Linked DNA regions of Homo sapiens: regions 1, 3, 4 and 5 are each linked to region 2. The links are contacts of gene promoters, found by promoter capture Hi-C in human tissues and cell types (Jung and others, 2019). All regions are on one chromosome and are shown on one strand. The core of a region is centred on a gene start or on the middle of the fragment in contact, and the rest is flanking DNA. Distances in the headings are between cores, read along the strand shown. Region 1 holds the start of FFAR1 (free fatty acid receptor 1). Region 2 holds the start of ETV2 (ETS variant transcription factor 2). Region 3 has its middle 22 kb from the start of SDHAF1. Region 4 overlaps HAMP (hepcidin antimicrobial peptide). Region 5 holds the start of CLIP3 (CAP-Gly domain containing linker protein 3).

What was found. Contacts are between HindIII fragments. The study calls those that stand out against the background at their distance.
Region 1: a contact is called between the fragment with the promoter of FFAR1 here and the fragment with the promoter of ETV2 in region 2, in 2 of the 25 tissues and cell types used here (dorsolateral prefrontal cortex and lymphoblastoid cells).
Region 3: a contact is called between a fragment that was not itself captured here and the fragment with the promoter of ETV2 in region 2, in 1 of the 25 tissues and cell types used here (lymphoblastoid cells).
Region 4: a contact is called between a fragment that was not itself captured here and the fragment with the promoter of ETV2 in region 2, in 2 of the 25 tissues and cell types used here (dorsolateral prefrontal cortex and mesenchymal stem cells).
Region 5: the fragment with the promoter of CLIP3 here is called in contact with the fragment with the promoter of ETV2 in region 2 in 2 of the 25 tissues and cell types used here (mesenchymal stem cells and ovary).

What each region holds. Positions count from the first base shown.
Region 1 is chr19:35,346,652-35,349,453 of GRCh38, forward strand. It overlaps FFAR1 (free fatty acid receptor 1), which reads left to right and starts at 1,251. Exons shown (of 2, transcript NM_005303.3): 1 at 1,251-2,802. It overlaps CD22 (CD22 molecule), which reads left to right. Exons shown (of 14, transcript NM_001771.4): 14 at 1-710. The coding sequence ends at 46. RefSeq lists enhancers at 323-422, 1,023-1,102 and a silencer at 2,381-2,581. The HindIII fragment of the contact is 9,647 bases long and covers 1-2,802 here.
Region 2 is chr19:35,640,302-35,643,001 of GRCh38, forward strand. It overlaps ETV2 (ETS variant transcription factor 2), which reads left to right and starts at 1,444. Exons shown (of 7, transcript NM_014209.4): 1 at 1,444-1,855; 2 at 2,133-2,229; 3 at 2,314-2,397; 4 at 2,664-2,700. The coding sequence starts at 2,160. RefSeq lists an enhancer at 1,600-2,315. The HindIII fragment of the contact is 9,443 bases long and covers 456-2,700 here.
Region 3 is chr19:35,972,130-35,974,835 of GRCh38, forward strand. No RefSeq gene overlaps it. Among named protein-coding and RNA genes, the nearest start is that of SDHAF1, 22 kb to the right of the region's middle. RefSeq lists a silencer at 1,425-1,625. The HindIII fragment of the contact is 9,546 bases long and covers 1-2,706 here.
Region 4 is chr19:35,283,595-35,286,294 of GRCh38, forward strand. It overlaps HAMP (hepcidin antimicrobial peptide), which reads left to right. Exons shown (of 3, transcript NM_021175.4): 2 at 1,195-1,254; 3 at 1,344-1,549. The coding sequence ends at 1,448. Among named protein-coding and RNA genes, the nearest start is that of HAMP, 2.4 kb to the left of the region's middle. The HindIII fragment of the contact is 4,818 bases long and covers 1-2,700 here.
Region 5 is chr19:36,031,380-36,034,235 of GRCh38, forward strand. CLIP3 (CAP-Gly domain containing linker protein 3) reads right to left here and starts at 1,494. Exons shown (of 14, transcript NM_015526.3): 1 at 1,345-1,494; 2 at 813-1,036. The coding sequence starts at 978. The region is part of intron 3 of LOC101927572 (a long non-coding RNA gene); the gene reads left to right. The HindIII fragment of the contact is 12,641 bases long and covers 1-2,856 here.

The DNA.
Region 1 (2,802 bases), core at 1-2,500, 290 kb before region 2:
GCCTCAGGCACAAGAAAATGTGGACTATGTGATCCTCAAACATTGACACTGGATGGGCTGCAGCAGAGGCACTGGGGGCAGCGGGGGCCAGGGAAGTCCCCGAGTTTCCCCAGACACCGCCACATGGCTTCCTCCTGCGCGCATGTGCGCACACACACACACACACGCACACACACACACACACACTCACTGCGGAGAACCTTGTGCCTGGCTCAGAGCCAGTCTTTTTGGTGAGGGTAACCCCAAACCTCCAAAACTCCTGCCCCTGTTCTCTTCCACTCTCCTTGCTACCCAGAAATCCATCTAAATACCTGCCCTGACATGCACACCTCCCCCTGCCCCCACCACGGCCACTGGCCATCTCCACCCCCAGCTGCTTGTGTCCCTCCTGGGATCTGCTCGTCATCATTTTTCCTTCCCTTCTCCATCTCTCTGGCCCTCTACCCCTGATCTGACATCCCCACTCACGAATATTATGCCCAGTTTCTGCCTCTGAGGGAAAGCCCAGAAAAGGACAGAAACGAAGTAGAAAGGGGCCCAGTCCTGGCCTGGCTTCTCCTTTGGAAGTGAGGCATTGCACGGGGAGACGTACGTATCAGCGGCCCCTTGACTCTGGGGACTCCGGGTTTGAGATGGACACACTGGTGTGGATTAACCTGCCAGGGAGACAGAGCTCACAATAAAAATGGCTCAGATGCCACTTCAAAGAACCAGTGAACTCTTTTCAGTCTGTGGAGTCAGAGTGGGGATGAGGAGAGGGGAAAGTCTTCATGGGGCCTGGGGGGAAGGAAATGGAGTCACAGTGGTTTACTGATCAAACCAGCAGATTAGAGAGTCTGGTGTCTTGTTAGGAAAAGCATACTGGCTTTGCAGACAGACAAACATGAGAACTTGAATCTTGATTCTTCGGCTTAACTAGCCCGGTGATCTTGGCAGGGCTCGCCAGCTTGCCTGAGTCTCGGCTTCTCCATCTGTAAAGTGGAGAGGGAAAGGCCACTGCCTACCACGCAGGTGGCCCACGATAGGAAGTGAGGCATCGTCTTCTATATGCTGGAGCCACATTGAGACCCAGCACAGAAGCCGAAAGTCCCCCAGAAAACCAACCTCCATCCTTTATTTGCATTTTTCGAAGAATGTGAAAAGGGGAAGCCGATTCAAAACAGCTCTTCCCAAAAGTGACGCTACCCAATTCTTGCACAACCCATAGCTGCCAGAGAAAGTCTTGAAGACCAGCCACCCTGAGAAACCTCACAGCTTTTCTGTCATTCGAGGTCCTCTGCACCCGTTCTCTAATTCTGTTCACTGATTCAGACTTTCCAGTTAGGTGCCCCAGCTCCCCTCTCCGCTTCTCGGGTTTGATCTTTCTCCACCCATTCACCTGCTTCTGCAAAGGGGCTAAAGCCCATTCTCCTTAGAGGGCAGGGGTGTAATTATCTGATCATCAGGGAGATTGGCTCCTGGCACGTGGCAGGTGTCCCCAAACTGCCACCTTCCTCTCCCACCTTCCTTTCCCTCCCATCTCTGCTCAGTACCCGGACGGTAACTCTAGGAATTATGGTTCAGGGAGGCCTTGATCGCCCCATCAATCCACTTTGTCCCTGGTTTGATTCTTGTGAGCACCATTAACTTTTCTGGAGGAAGGTGAGGCTTTAAGAACTGTTTAAAGCCCAGGCGTGGTGGATCACGCCTGTAATCACAGCACTCTGGGAGGCCAAGGTGGGCAGATCACCTGAGGTCAGGAGTTCAAGACCAGCCTAGCCAACATGGTAAAATCCTGTCTCTACCAAAAATACAAAAATTAGCTGAGCGTGGTGATTCACACCTGTAATCTCAGCTACTTGGGAGGCTGAGGCAGGAGAGTCGCTTGAACCTGGGAGGCGGAGGTAGCGGTGAGCCGAGATCACGCCACTGCACTCCAGCCTATGCAACAGAGTGAGACTCCGCCTCAAAACAACAACAACAAAAACTGTTTAAATGAGACAGGAGGGTGTTGGGGTGTCTGTGCCCAAAATGGGGTCTGGTGTCATTCAACTCTTTCTTCATTCATTCTGCACACAGATACTGAGCACCTGGAAATGCACCCAGTACAGAGCCAGTTGTTAGGACACCAAAAAGATAAGGCGTAGGACCAACCTTGGGGATCTCTAGTCGAGAGCCGCCAAGGGTTTTTAAGGCAAGATACCCTGGAGGGAGCTGAGGCAGTCCTAAGCCTGAAGGGCCTGGCTTAAGCTCCCTGGCAACCATCGAGCATCTTCCCCTTCCCACCCTGTCCCTCAGCACAGCTGCTGACATAAACCTACTACATGGCTGATTGACCATGAGATATGGCCATCAATAGACATTGCTGAGGCGTGAAGAGCAGGTGAAGAGCAGGTGGCCAGGAAGCTAGGGGGCCAGGACTCCAGACGCAGGCCGCCCTCCACAACCCCAGCTCTCACAGTCCTCCCAGGGTCCAGACAATGGATCGTGCATTTAGGTTCCCAAACACCTGCTGTGCAACGTGTAGTAGACAAAGCAGACCAAAGCCTTTGCCCTCAGGAGGCCGGCATTCTAGCTCAGGAGCCAGCCAAGACGATGTCGCACTGAAGAAAGACAACAAAAGTGAGATTCACAGGAGGGATGAGTGTGGCTGAGGCACCCGGGAAGGCCCTCGGAGAAGGTGACCTTGGGCAAAGATCCAGACGCCAGGTGGGTGGGGCCAAAGCAGAGAAGATCTGGAAAACCCAATGGCTCCCCAGGGCTTCGCTCTTGCTGCAGGAGGGGAAACCACACTGCTGTGGATTCTTCCTCCATTCTGTCCAT
Region 2 (2,700 bases), core at 194-2,693:
ATACAGCAGGATGGCTGGGCACGGTGGTGGCTCATGCTTCTAATTACAGCACTAAGGCTAAGGCAGGTGGATAGCTTGAGGCCAGGAGTTTGAGACCAGCCTGGCCAACATGGCAAAACCCCATCTCTACTAAAAATGCAAAAATTAGCCTAGGCATGGTGGCTCACGCCTGTAATCCCAGCACTTTGGGAGACCGAGGCAAGTGGATCACTTGAGGTCAGGAGTTCGAGACCAGCCTGGCCAACATGGCAAAACCCCATCTCTACTAAAAATGCAAAAAATTAGCCGGGCATGGTGGTGCTTGCCTGTAATCCCAGCTACTTGGAAGGCTGAGGCACCAGAATTGCTTGAACCCGGGAGGCAGAGGTTGCAGTGAGCTGAGATCGCACCACTGCACTCCAGCCTGGGCGACAGAGTGAGACTCCATCTCGAAAAATATTTTATATATATATAGGACACCCAGTTATTGAATTTTACGTGAACAATTTTATAGTTTAGGTATGTCCTAAATATTTCATGTATGTATGTATATGTTACATGTATAGCTGTGGTTTTTTGTTGTTTTTTGCTGAATTATTTGAGCAAGTTACAGACTTTTTTTTTGTTGTTTCTTTTTTTGAGATGAAGTTTCGCTCTTGTTCCCCAGGCTGGAGTGCAATGGCATGATCTTGGCTCACTGCAACCTCCATCTCCCTGGTTCAAGCAATTCTCCTGCCTCAGCCTCCCGAGTAGCTGGGATTACAAGCACCCGCCACCACGCCTGGCTAATTTTTTGTATTTTTAGTAGAGACAGGGTTTCACCATGTTGGACAGGCTGATCTAGAACTCCTGACCTCAGATGATCCACCCGCCTCAGCCTCCCAAAGTGCTGGGATTACAGGCGTGAATCACCGCGCCCAACCACAAGTTACAGACATTATAACATTTCATCTCTGAGTTCATTTTCTAAATGATATCTTTCCTCCTGAATACCATTATCAAATCTAAGAAAAGAATTCTATGATATTTCATATTCAGTTCATACTCCAGTTTCCCCAATTGTCCTAAACTATTACAGCGCGGAAGGGCATGGGGTCTGGAGAAGGAGAGCAGTGGGAGGATGCCTGCCTTACCTTCCCCCTTCATCAAATGAGAGTATGTATTGTACTTGCCTCATAGAAGGATTCAATGAAGGGGTATGGCACAGTTGGTTTCACACAATGAGCCCTCATTTAATGTTGGCCGTTATTGCTACTATTGTTATTGTTGAAATTGTTGATGTCAATATTGCTATGATTGGCACTCCTGGGAAGCAGCCCCAGGACGCCCTCCCTACTGGGCCTGGTGGAGGATTGGGTGGGCCTTCACTCCTGCTCCACGCCCCCGCAGTTACTCTGCCGATTGTGACGTCAGCTGACGCTGGGGGCGGGTGGGGGAATCTGGCCGGAAATCCCTCTTCCTGTTGCAGATAAGCCCAGCTTAGCCCAGCTGACCCCAGACCCTCTCCCCTCACTCCCCCCATGTCGCAGGATCGAGACCCTGAGGCAGACAGCCCGTTCACCAAGCCCCCCGCCCCGCCCCCATCACCCCGTAAACTTCTCCCAGCCTCCGCCCTGCCCTCACCCAGCCCGCTGTTCCCCAAGCCTCGCTCCAAGCCCACGCCACCCCTGCAGCAGGGCAGCCCCAGAGGCCAGCACCTATCCCCGAGGCTGGGGTCGAGGCTCGGCCCCGCCCCTGCCTCTGCAACTTGAGCCTGGCTGCGACCCCTGCTCTGACGTCTCGGAAAATTCCCCCTTGCCCAGGCCCTTGGGGGAGGGGGTGCATGGTATGAAATGGGGCTGAGACCCCCGGCTGGGGGCAGAGGAACCCGCCAGAGGTGAGCGATGAACTGAGGACTAGATGCCTGGGTGTCTGGGTTAGGAAGGACCTGGGGGACTAGACTCCCAAGAAGCCGGGGGCCTGGACTCCTGGGTCTAACAGAGGAAGAGAGCTGGGGTCCCTCACTCCCAGGACCAAGATTTTAGGCTCCTGGGGAAGGAGGGAGCGGAGGCCTGGACTCCTGGCTCTGAGGGAAGCTAGGGCTGGGGCCCAGACTCCAGGGCCTCCAAGTGTCACCAGCTCACCCATTGCCATCTGGACTTTTCCCGACCCAGAACATTCAGAAGGCCTTCATCGCATCCATGGACCTGTGGAACTGGGATGAGGCATCCCCACAGGAAGTGCCTCCAGGGAACAAGCTGGCAGGGCTTGGTAGGCTGCCGAGGCTGCCACAACGTGTGTGGGGAGGGTGTCCAGGTGGGGCCTCTGCTGACCCTAACCCCTTATCGCCTGCAGAAGGAGCCAAATTAGGCTTCTGTTTCCCTGATCTGGCACTCCAAGGGGACACGCCGACAGCGACAGCAGAGACATGCTGGAAAGGTGGCTGCGGGCTGGGACCCCTAAGTGCTGGAGAAGAAGCGGGGAGGCTGGGATCCTAGGGCAAAGGGAGGAGGGGGGCGTGCCTAGGTTCCTGGGACTGGGTGGGGAGGGGCCGCGTGCTTGACCCCTGAGGGTGAAGGAAAAGGGGGCGCGGGGTGCTGAAATACGGGCTGGGGGGCCATAACTCCCAGTCCCTGACAAGTAGAGACTAGAGAGTGGGTAGTTGAGGGGTCTCTTTCATTGCTCACAGTCCTCCCTAAACTCAGGTACAAGCTCATCCCTGGCAAGCTTCCCACAGCTGGA
Region 3 (2,706 bases), core at 53-2,552, 330 kb after region 2:
AGCCAAACTATATCAGACACTAACAACATCCCTGTGGCTGCCAGTTGAGAACAGATTACAGGGCTTGTGAAGGAATGAGGCCTGGAGGAACAACAGTGAGGAGGCTGCTGCAGTAGTCCCGGCAGGAGACAATGGGGCTTGGACCAGGGTGGGGCAGTGAACGCAGGAGAAATGTGGGCTGGAAACCACCAAGTGAGGCAAAATAAGGAAATCATGGACTGGGAGAAAGGAGGTACCCCTTGATCTGGAAGGACAGGTGGAGGCTCTTGGTAATGGGGGAAGCCCTTGGGTCCTGTCTGAAGGCTCTCCTGTTTACTGGATGAGGTGGGCACACCTGGCTCCTTGGTAGGATTACTCATCTAGATTCCTGAGAAGAGGACTTGCAAGTATTGTGTTAGGACAAATCTGGATATTGAAATCAAGACTCCCAGTTTAAAAAAAAAAAAAAAGAAGGCCGGGCACAGTGGCTCACGCCTGTAATCCCAACACTTTGGGAGGCCAAGGCGGGCGGATCACGAGGTCAGGAGTTCAAAACCAGCCTGACCAACATGGTGAAACCCTGTCTCTACTAAAACTACAAAAATTAGCTTGGCATGGTAGTGCACGCCTGTAATCCCAGCTACTCAGGAGGCTGAGAGAGCAGAATTGCTTGAACCTGGGAGGTGGAGGTTGCAGTGAGCCAAGATCTCGCCACTGCATTCCAGCCTGGGAGACAGAGCGAGACTCTGTCTCAAAAAAAAAAAAAAAAAAAAAAAAGATTCCCGGATAGAGGCTGGGCATGGTGGCTCACATCTACAATCCCAGCACTTTAGGAGGCCAAGGTGGGCAGACTGCTTGAGCTCAGGAGTTCCAGACCAGCCTGGGCAACATGACGAAACCTCGTCTCTACTTAAACACACACACACACACACACACACACACACACACACACACACACACACACACACAGAAAGATTCTTGGTTAGCTGGGCACGGTGGCTCACACCTGTAATCACAGCACTTTGGGAGGCCAAGGTGGGCGGATCACAAGGTCAGGAGATCGAGACCATCCTGGCTAGCACAGTGAAACCCTGTCTCTACTAAAAATACAAAAAATTACGGGGCGTGGTGGCAGGCGCCTGTAGTCCCAGCTACTGGGGAGGCTGAGACAGGAGAATGGCGTGAACCCAGGAGACGGAGCTTGCAGTGAGCCGAGACTGTGCCACTGCACTCCAACCTGGGCGGCAGGGTGAGACTCTGTCTCGAAAAAAAAAAAAAGAAGAAGAAGAAGAAAAAGAAAGATTCTTGGTTAGTAGACGAGGGTGGGGCATCCTAGATCTGCAAAGGCCCCACTCTCAATATCCCAGAATCCAACCCCCTCAACCTCCTTATCCTCCACCCCTCCCCGATGCTCAGGAATTCAGCCCCTCTGAAGACCCCAGCTCTTGGTCACTCCTGCAGGGGAACCCACAGCAGCTGGGGCTGTCAGTTATCCTGGGCGACAGATGGCTATGGTTGTACTTCCACACCTCAGAACCATGGGCAGAGGCAGGTCTGGAGCAAGAACCGCCCACACTGCATCTCTTTTACAACCGGCAGCACACACGTCACTGCACGTGGCTGAAGGTTGCCACTCACACAAGGCAGACTGTGCAGTGACTTCATTCAGGCAGGACCATGACATGGGCAGTCCAGATCCACTGGTCTTCGTGCATTTGGGCCCCGCAGCCACCTGATACCCTGAGCCAAGCCTTAGTCCCCACAGGAGACTGGGGGCCCTGTGCTGTCCCTGTAGCCCCAAAGGGGCCCCTTAGCCACTGCCACCAAGTGTGACACCTACACCCTTCGAGGCCAGTGCCGTGCCTGGATATGCCCCTTCCCCAGCTCCCTGCCTACGCTTTGGGAGTGCTTCCATGTCTGTGTACACCCTGTCAGGCCTCAGTGTCAACACTGAGCCCTCGAGCTTCTGGGCTGGCTGCCGTGAGTGACCCTTCAAGGGAAAGGGTTATAGGCTGCTGGGTAAAGGGGATTCTGGGACTTAGGAATGACACTCCTTAGTTCTGGAGGCTGATTCCTGGGGCAAGGGTGTAGGGTCCCTGGAAGGGGACAGCCTCTGGGTCCTGGGGGCAAGACTGCTGAGTTGGGGGGTGCGGGGAAAATAATTCTAGGGCCCAGAGACAGGGCTCTTTGGGTCTGGGGCCAGGGCTTCTGGGTCCTGGGCATGGGAACAACTTGGCTATAGGGCTGGGACTGCTGGGTTCTCAAGTTCTAGAGACTAGAACACCTAGGTGGTGACAACTCCAGTATCTGGGGTGAGCGCTCTGAGTCCCAGAGCCAGACTTATTTATTTATTTAGACAGGATGTCACTCTGTTGTTTATTTAGACAGGGTATCACTCTGTTGCCAAGGCTGGAGTGCAGTGGTACTATCATAGCTCACTGCAGCCTCAACCTCCCAGGCTCAAGCCATCCTCCCTCCTCAGCTTCCCAAGTATCTGGGACCACGGGCATGTGCCACTATGCCCAGATAATTTTTTAATTTTTTTTGTAAAGATGAGGTCTTCCTATGTTGCCCAGGCTGGTCTCTAATTCCTGAGCTCAAGTGATCCTCCCACCTTGGCCTCCCAAAATGCTGGGATTACAGATGTGAGCCACTACGCCTGTCCCAGAGCCAGACTTCTATGTTCTGGGGAGTGGACTTCTGGTTTCTTAGCACAGAGACTTCTTT
Region 4 (2,700 bases), core at 119-2,618, 360 kb before region 2:
GTTGACCTTCGTCTTGGAGGGTGAGAGATGGAGGCAGCAAAGACCTAAGGAGAGGACAAGCCAGCATAGCCCAGGGTCAGGCTGAACAAGAGGAGATGGTGGGACTTGGGGATAAGGCTGAGGGGTGGGCAGTCCCTAAGTCTTGTGGGCAACCATGCAGACACTGATTTTTCCTTGGAATAAAGAGGAAGCCCCCATAAGCTTTTTTTTTTTTTTCTGAGATAGGGTCTCGCTCTGTCGTTCAGGCTGGTGTGCAGTGGCATCATCTGGGCTCACTGCAACCTCCGCCTCCCGGGTTCAAGCAATTCTCCTGCCTCAGCTTCCCGAGCAGCTGGGATTACAGGCGGCTGCCACCACGCCCGGCTAATTTTTGTTTTTTTAGTAGAGACAGGGTTTCACCATGTTGGCCAGACTGGTCTTGAACTCCTGACCTCAGGTGATTCTCCCACCTCGGCTTCCCAAAGTGCTGGGATTACAGGCGTGAGCCACTGCGCCCAGCCTCCTGTAGGTTTTTAAAATGGAGAAAACCACAATCTCACTGGCCATGTTTTAAAAAACTTAATCTGCCAGTCAGGCACCATGGCTCACACCTGTAATCCCAGAGTTTTGGGAGGCCAAGGTAGGAAGATCAGTTGAGCCCAGGAGTTCAAGACCAGCTTGGGCAACACAACCAGACCCCACCTCTACAAAAAATTAAAAAATTAGCCGGGTGTGGTGGCGTGCACCTGCTGTCCCAGCTACTCGGGAAGCTGAGGCGGGAGCATCGCTTGAGCACAGGAGGTCAAGGCTGCAGGGAGCTATGACTGTGCCACTGCACTCTGGCCTGGGCAACAGAGGAAGACTCTGTCTAAAAAACAAACAAAAAAAGTGACTCTGCTGTGTGGCAAATGGATTGAGGGGCAAGAATGCAGGGAGGTGTGTTAGGAGGCTGGCACTGGCATCCAGGCAGGGGAAGGTGATATCCCAAAGAAGAGTAGCAGCTGTGGAAAGAGGAGGAGGCGGATCTGGGAGGTTTTTTTTTTTAGGAAAAGCCGCCCATGGGAAGGTGAGCAGAAGCAAGAAAGCAAGGCCCCTCCTAAGAGTCCATTTGAGCTCTGGGTTTAAACCACTTGGAGAGGAGCAGGTTGCCGGGAGCCAGTCTCAGAGGTCCACTGGGCCCCCTGCCATCCTCTGCACCCCCTTCTGCTTTCACAGACGGGACAACTTGCAGAGCTGCAACCCCAGGACAGAGCTGGAGCCAGGGCCAGCTGGATGGTGAGCGCAACAGTGATGCCTTTCCTAGCCCCCTGCTCCCTCCCCATGCTAAGGCCGGTTCCCTGCTCACATTCCCTTCCTTCCCACAGCCCATGTTCCAGAGGCGAAGGAGGCGAGACACCCACTTCCCCATCTGCATTTTCTGCTGCGGCTGCTGTCATCGATCAAAGTGTGGGATGTGCTGCAAGACGTAGAACCTACCTGCCCTGCCCCCGTCCCCTCCCTTCCTTATTTATTCCTGCTGCCCCAGAACATAGGTCTTGGAATAAAATGGCTGGTTCTTTTGTTTTCCAAACCAGAGTGTCTGTTGTCCTTTCTCTCTGCCGAGTGTCTGTGCTAAGAGCTTGTCCTGACCCTGCCTTGCAAGCACCAGTGCTTGGTGGGTCATGTGGGGCTGGTGTGTCCTGGAGGTTGCCAGGAAAGTTGGTGAAGAAAATTTGTTTCTGTTCTCCCCCTTCATGTTGCAATAATAGGGGATGAAAGTTAATGTTTCCTCTCCTTGAGATCTTCCTAAAACAGCTGTAGAAATCAGTGCCTGTAAGGCAAGCTTGTCCAACCTGGAGGCCACATGCAGCCCTGGATGGCTTTGAATGCACCCAACACAAATTTGTAGTTTCTTAAGGCATTATGAGATTTTTCCGCAATTTTTTTTTTTCTCATCAGCTGTCATTAGTGTTAGTGTGTTTTATGTGTGGCCCAAGACAATTCTTCCAGTGTGGCCCAGGGAAGCCAAAACATTGGACACTGCTATAAAGGTTCTCAAAGTAAGATCCAGGGACTCCTTTTGTAGGGCTCCTGAAGGTGGAAACTACTAAGACTTTTTTTTTCCTTTTTTTTTCCTTTTTTTTCTTTCTTTTTTTTTTTTTTTTGAGGCAGAGTCTCTCTGTGTCACCCAGGCTGGAGGGCAGTGGCATGATCTTGGCTCACTGCAACCTCCACCTCCCAGGTTCAAGCGATTCCCCTGCCTCAGCCTCCTGAATAGCTGGGACTACAGGCACGTGCCACCACACCTGGCTAATTTTTGTATTTTTAGTAGAGGTGGGGTTTTGCCATGTTGTCCAGGCTGGTCTCGAACTCCTGACCTCAAGTGATCCACCCGTCTCAGTCTCCCAAAGTGCTGAGATTACAGGTGTGAGCCACCACGCCCGGCCTACAAAGATGTTTATTTGCCTTTTTCACCCTGGTTCTCTCATGAGTATACAATGGAGTTTCCAGGAGGCTCTGCGACACCTGTTGGCATCATCACCAGATGGCTAATGGATTGTGTGCTGGTGTATCTCACGCTTTTAAATGTCCCAGTTTCTAGCCCGGTGCAGTTGCACCATCCCTGCTACTCGGGAGGCTGAGGCAGGAGGATAATTTAAGACTGGGAGTTCCAGAAGAAGACCTGGTGTCAAAAAAAAAAAAAATGGGGCAACGAAAATGAGAGCAATACAGCTTTCAAGA
Region 5 (2,856 bases), core at 244-2,743, 390 kb after region 2:
TCTGTTCACTTGTTTAGTCTCTCCTTCTCTCCTGCAAGGGAGGATCATGCCTGGATCACTTAGGATTAAATCTCCGGCACCCAGCATAAGGCTTGTCACAGAGTAGCAGCACTCGATAAATATCGCTCGGTCAATGATTAGACACTTTCAGTTTCTCCAAGAGGCCGCCCTCTCAGCTCCATACCCTCCTACCTCAGATCCTTTACCCAGCGGTTACCTCTCCTGGGAGCCCTTTCCCCTGACCCTTCTCTTAGTTAACCCCAACTCACCCTCCAGTCTTCTCAACTGTAACCTCCTCAGGGAAACAATGTCTTAAAAAACTCTTGCAGCAGCTTGTTTATGGTAAATACAATTTTCATAATGTCTTGTAATTACATATTTATATTACATTATATTTTTCTTTCTTGCATATAAACCTAAATGTGAAAAATTACATTATGGTTTAATACCTATTTGTGTGGCTGTTACTGAGGCCTGTGAGTTGTCTCAGGGCAAAGACTGGGTCTCTCTTGCCCCCTGCTGTGGCCCCAGCCCCTAGCATAAAGCCAGGTCCACAGCCGCTTTCAAAAAATGATTGTTGAATGACTAAATGATGGAATGATGTGTCATGAGTCAAAGACTAGGAGTATTACAATTCCATTCTCCAATGGGTGAATGAATGAATTAACGAGGGGTGCTCTGCAGCCAAGATTCCTCTGGACCACCTTCAAATTCCCCAGAATTCTCCCACCATCACCACCAGCAGAGCACAGCCCACCCTCCCCGGCCACCCAACGCTCCAGGCCAGATTCCAGGGTGGGGACAGTGGTTACCGTAGTCCTTAGGGAGGGGGGCAGGTGCCGAGGGGTGCACAACAGGCTTCTGCCGGCGCTCCTGGGTGGGGCTGGGGGCCTCGGGGACGGGTTCATCCTCCTCCTCCTCTTCTTCCTCCTCTCCTCGGGGTGGCGGGGCCATCGGGGCAGGATCTGTCTTAGTCATGGTCCTCGGTGGCCCTCGGGGGGCGGGTGCAGAGTTGGGGGCAGCCTTCAGGCAAATCCTGGAGGCAGAGGTCAGCTGGAGAGGGTGCCCGGCAGGCTCCAGGGTCCAAGCCCCTAGGAGCTTCCAGGGCCCCGGGTGGCCTCCGCGCAACTGGATCTTGGGCAACCATAGGGACCCCCGTTACCCATAGAGGGCCCCGGTGTGTGCGCCCAGCGCCTGCCACCTCCCCCAGGCCCAGCCCCCCATTCTTCTCCTCCCGCGTCAGGCCCCTCAGTCGCGGCTGCCCCCTCCCCGGGTTTGTTTATCTCGGGATTCAGGATGCTTCGCCCCTCCCCTTCTCCGCGGGCCGCCCCCTCCCCATCTTACCTCGGGCAGACAGCGCTGGGGACCAAAGTGGAGACTGGGGAGACTGTGGGAGCAATGGGGTGTCGGTGTCAGGGGACGTGATGGGGGAGGCAAGGGAGACAGAGAGAAGGGGACGAGGCCCAGACGCCGACAGGGGGTGGGGGCGGAGAGGGAGGGGCGCGACTGCGCATGCGCCTGCTGCCCCCCTACCGGCGGCGGGGGAGGAGGGACCAGGAGGAGGGACCGGGAGGCGCTCGCATTGATGGAGGGGCCAGAGGCGGCGACTGAAAGGGGAGAGCCTCCGGGCACTGGGAGAGGAAGAGATGGCTACGGAAAGGAGCGAGATGAGCAGATACAACGGCAAAAGAGAGGGCTGAGAGAGCGGACACAGATCTTCTCCATCCCCTTCCCCCACGCCTGCAAACCAGGCCGGTGAGGGCAGTGGTCTTGGGGCGTGGTGACGATGGGGACCCTCTAGGGGACCCTCTCTCTAGGACCCTAGACCGGACCCCTTCTCCAAGCTCACCATTCATAATGGGTGCCTCAGAGGGGTGATTTCCTAGAGACTCCTATCATGATCATCTCATCCTTACCATCATAATGCGAGGCTCACACACTGGGGCCCAGAGGTTAAGCAGCTTGCCCAAAAGTACATGAGTAGGTGATGGAGCGAACATTTGAAACCAGACAGTCTGTAAAGTCTGATTTTTATTTTTATTATTTCCTAGACAGGGTCTCACTCTGTCACCCAGGCTACTGTGCAGTGTTGTGATCTTGGCTCACTGCAGCGTCAAACTTCTGGGCTCAAGCCATCCTCCCACCTCAACCTCCCGAGTAGCCGAGACCACACGTGCATGCCACCATGTCTGGAGAATTTTTTTTGAGACAGGGTTTTGCCATGTTGCCCAGGCTGGTCTTGAACTCCTGACCTCAAGGGATCCTCCTGCCCCTGCCACCCAAAGCGCTGAGATTACAGGCACGAGTCACCATGCCCAGCTTTGATTCTTAATCACCATGCTACATGCCTGTAGCAGTGTCTGGGAAACAGATCTGCCGATTGACCCCTCCAACTCTCTCAGAACCTGTATCTTCCCCACGGAGGCCTCCTGAAGCCAGCCCAGGGTCCTGGCTCCATTGTCATGGCTTGGCTTCCCACCTGGAGCTGTAGCCTGCTCTGCCTCAAATCATCCCAGCCTGGATGGGGCTGGGTGACAGCCTTGAACACCTCATCCTTCTAATGCACAGGTCCAGTAGCTCCATCTCCAAAAGATTTCCAGGATCTCACTCTCCCCACCGCTACCCTGGGCCCTCATCTTGGTCCATCCTTCTTCTTCTGCCACCAGCACTACGGCAGCAGCCTCTTACCTGCTGTCCCCGTCCTCCTCCAACATGCAGCCACAGGGACCCATGAACACCTGTCACTTTGGAGCCCTCTTTCCCTCAGAGGGGTCTGCCTGCTGCACCTCACTCCAGGTAGAAGCCAAGGCTCTCAGCCATGGCCCACAAGGGCCTATGTGAACCTGCCCCATCATC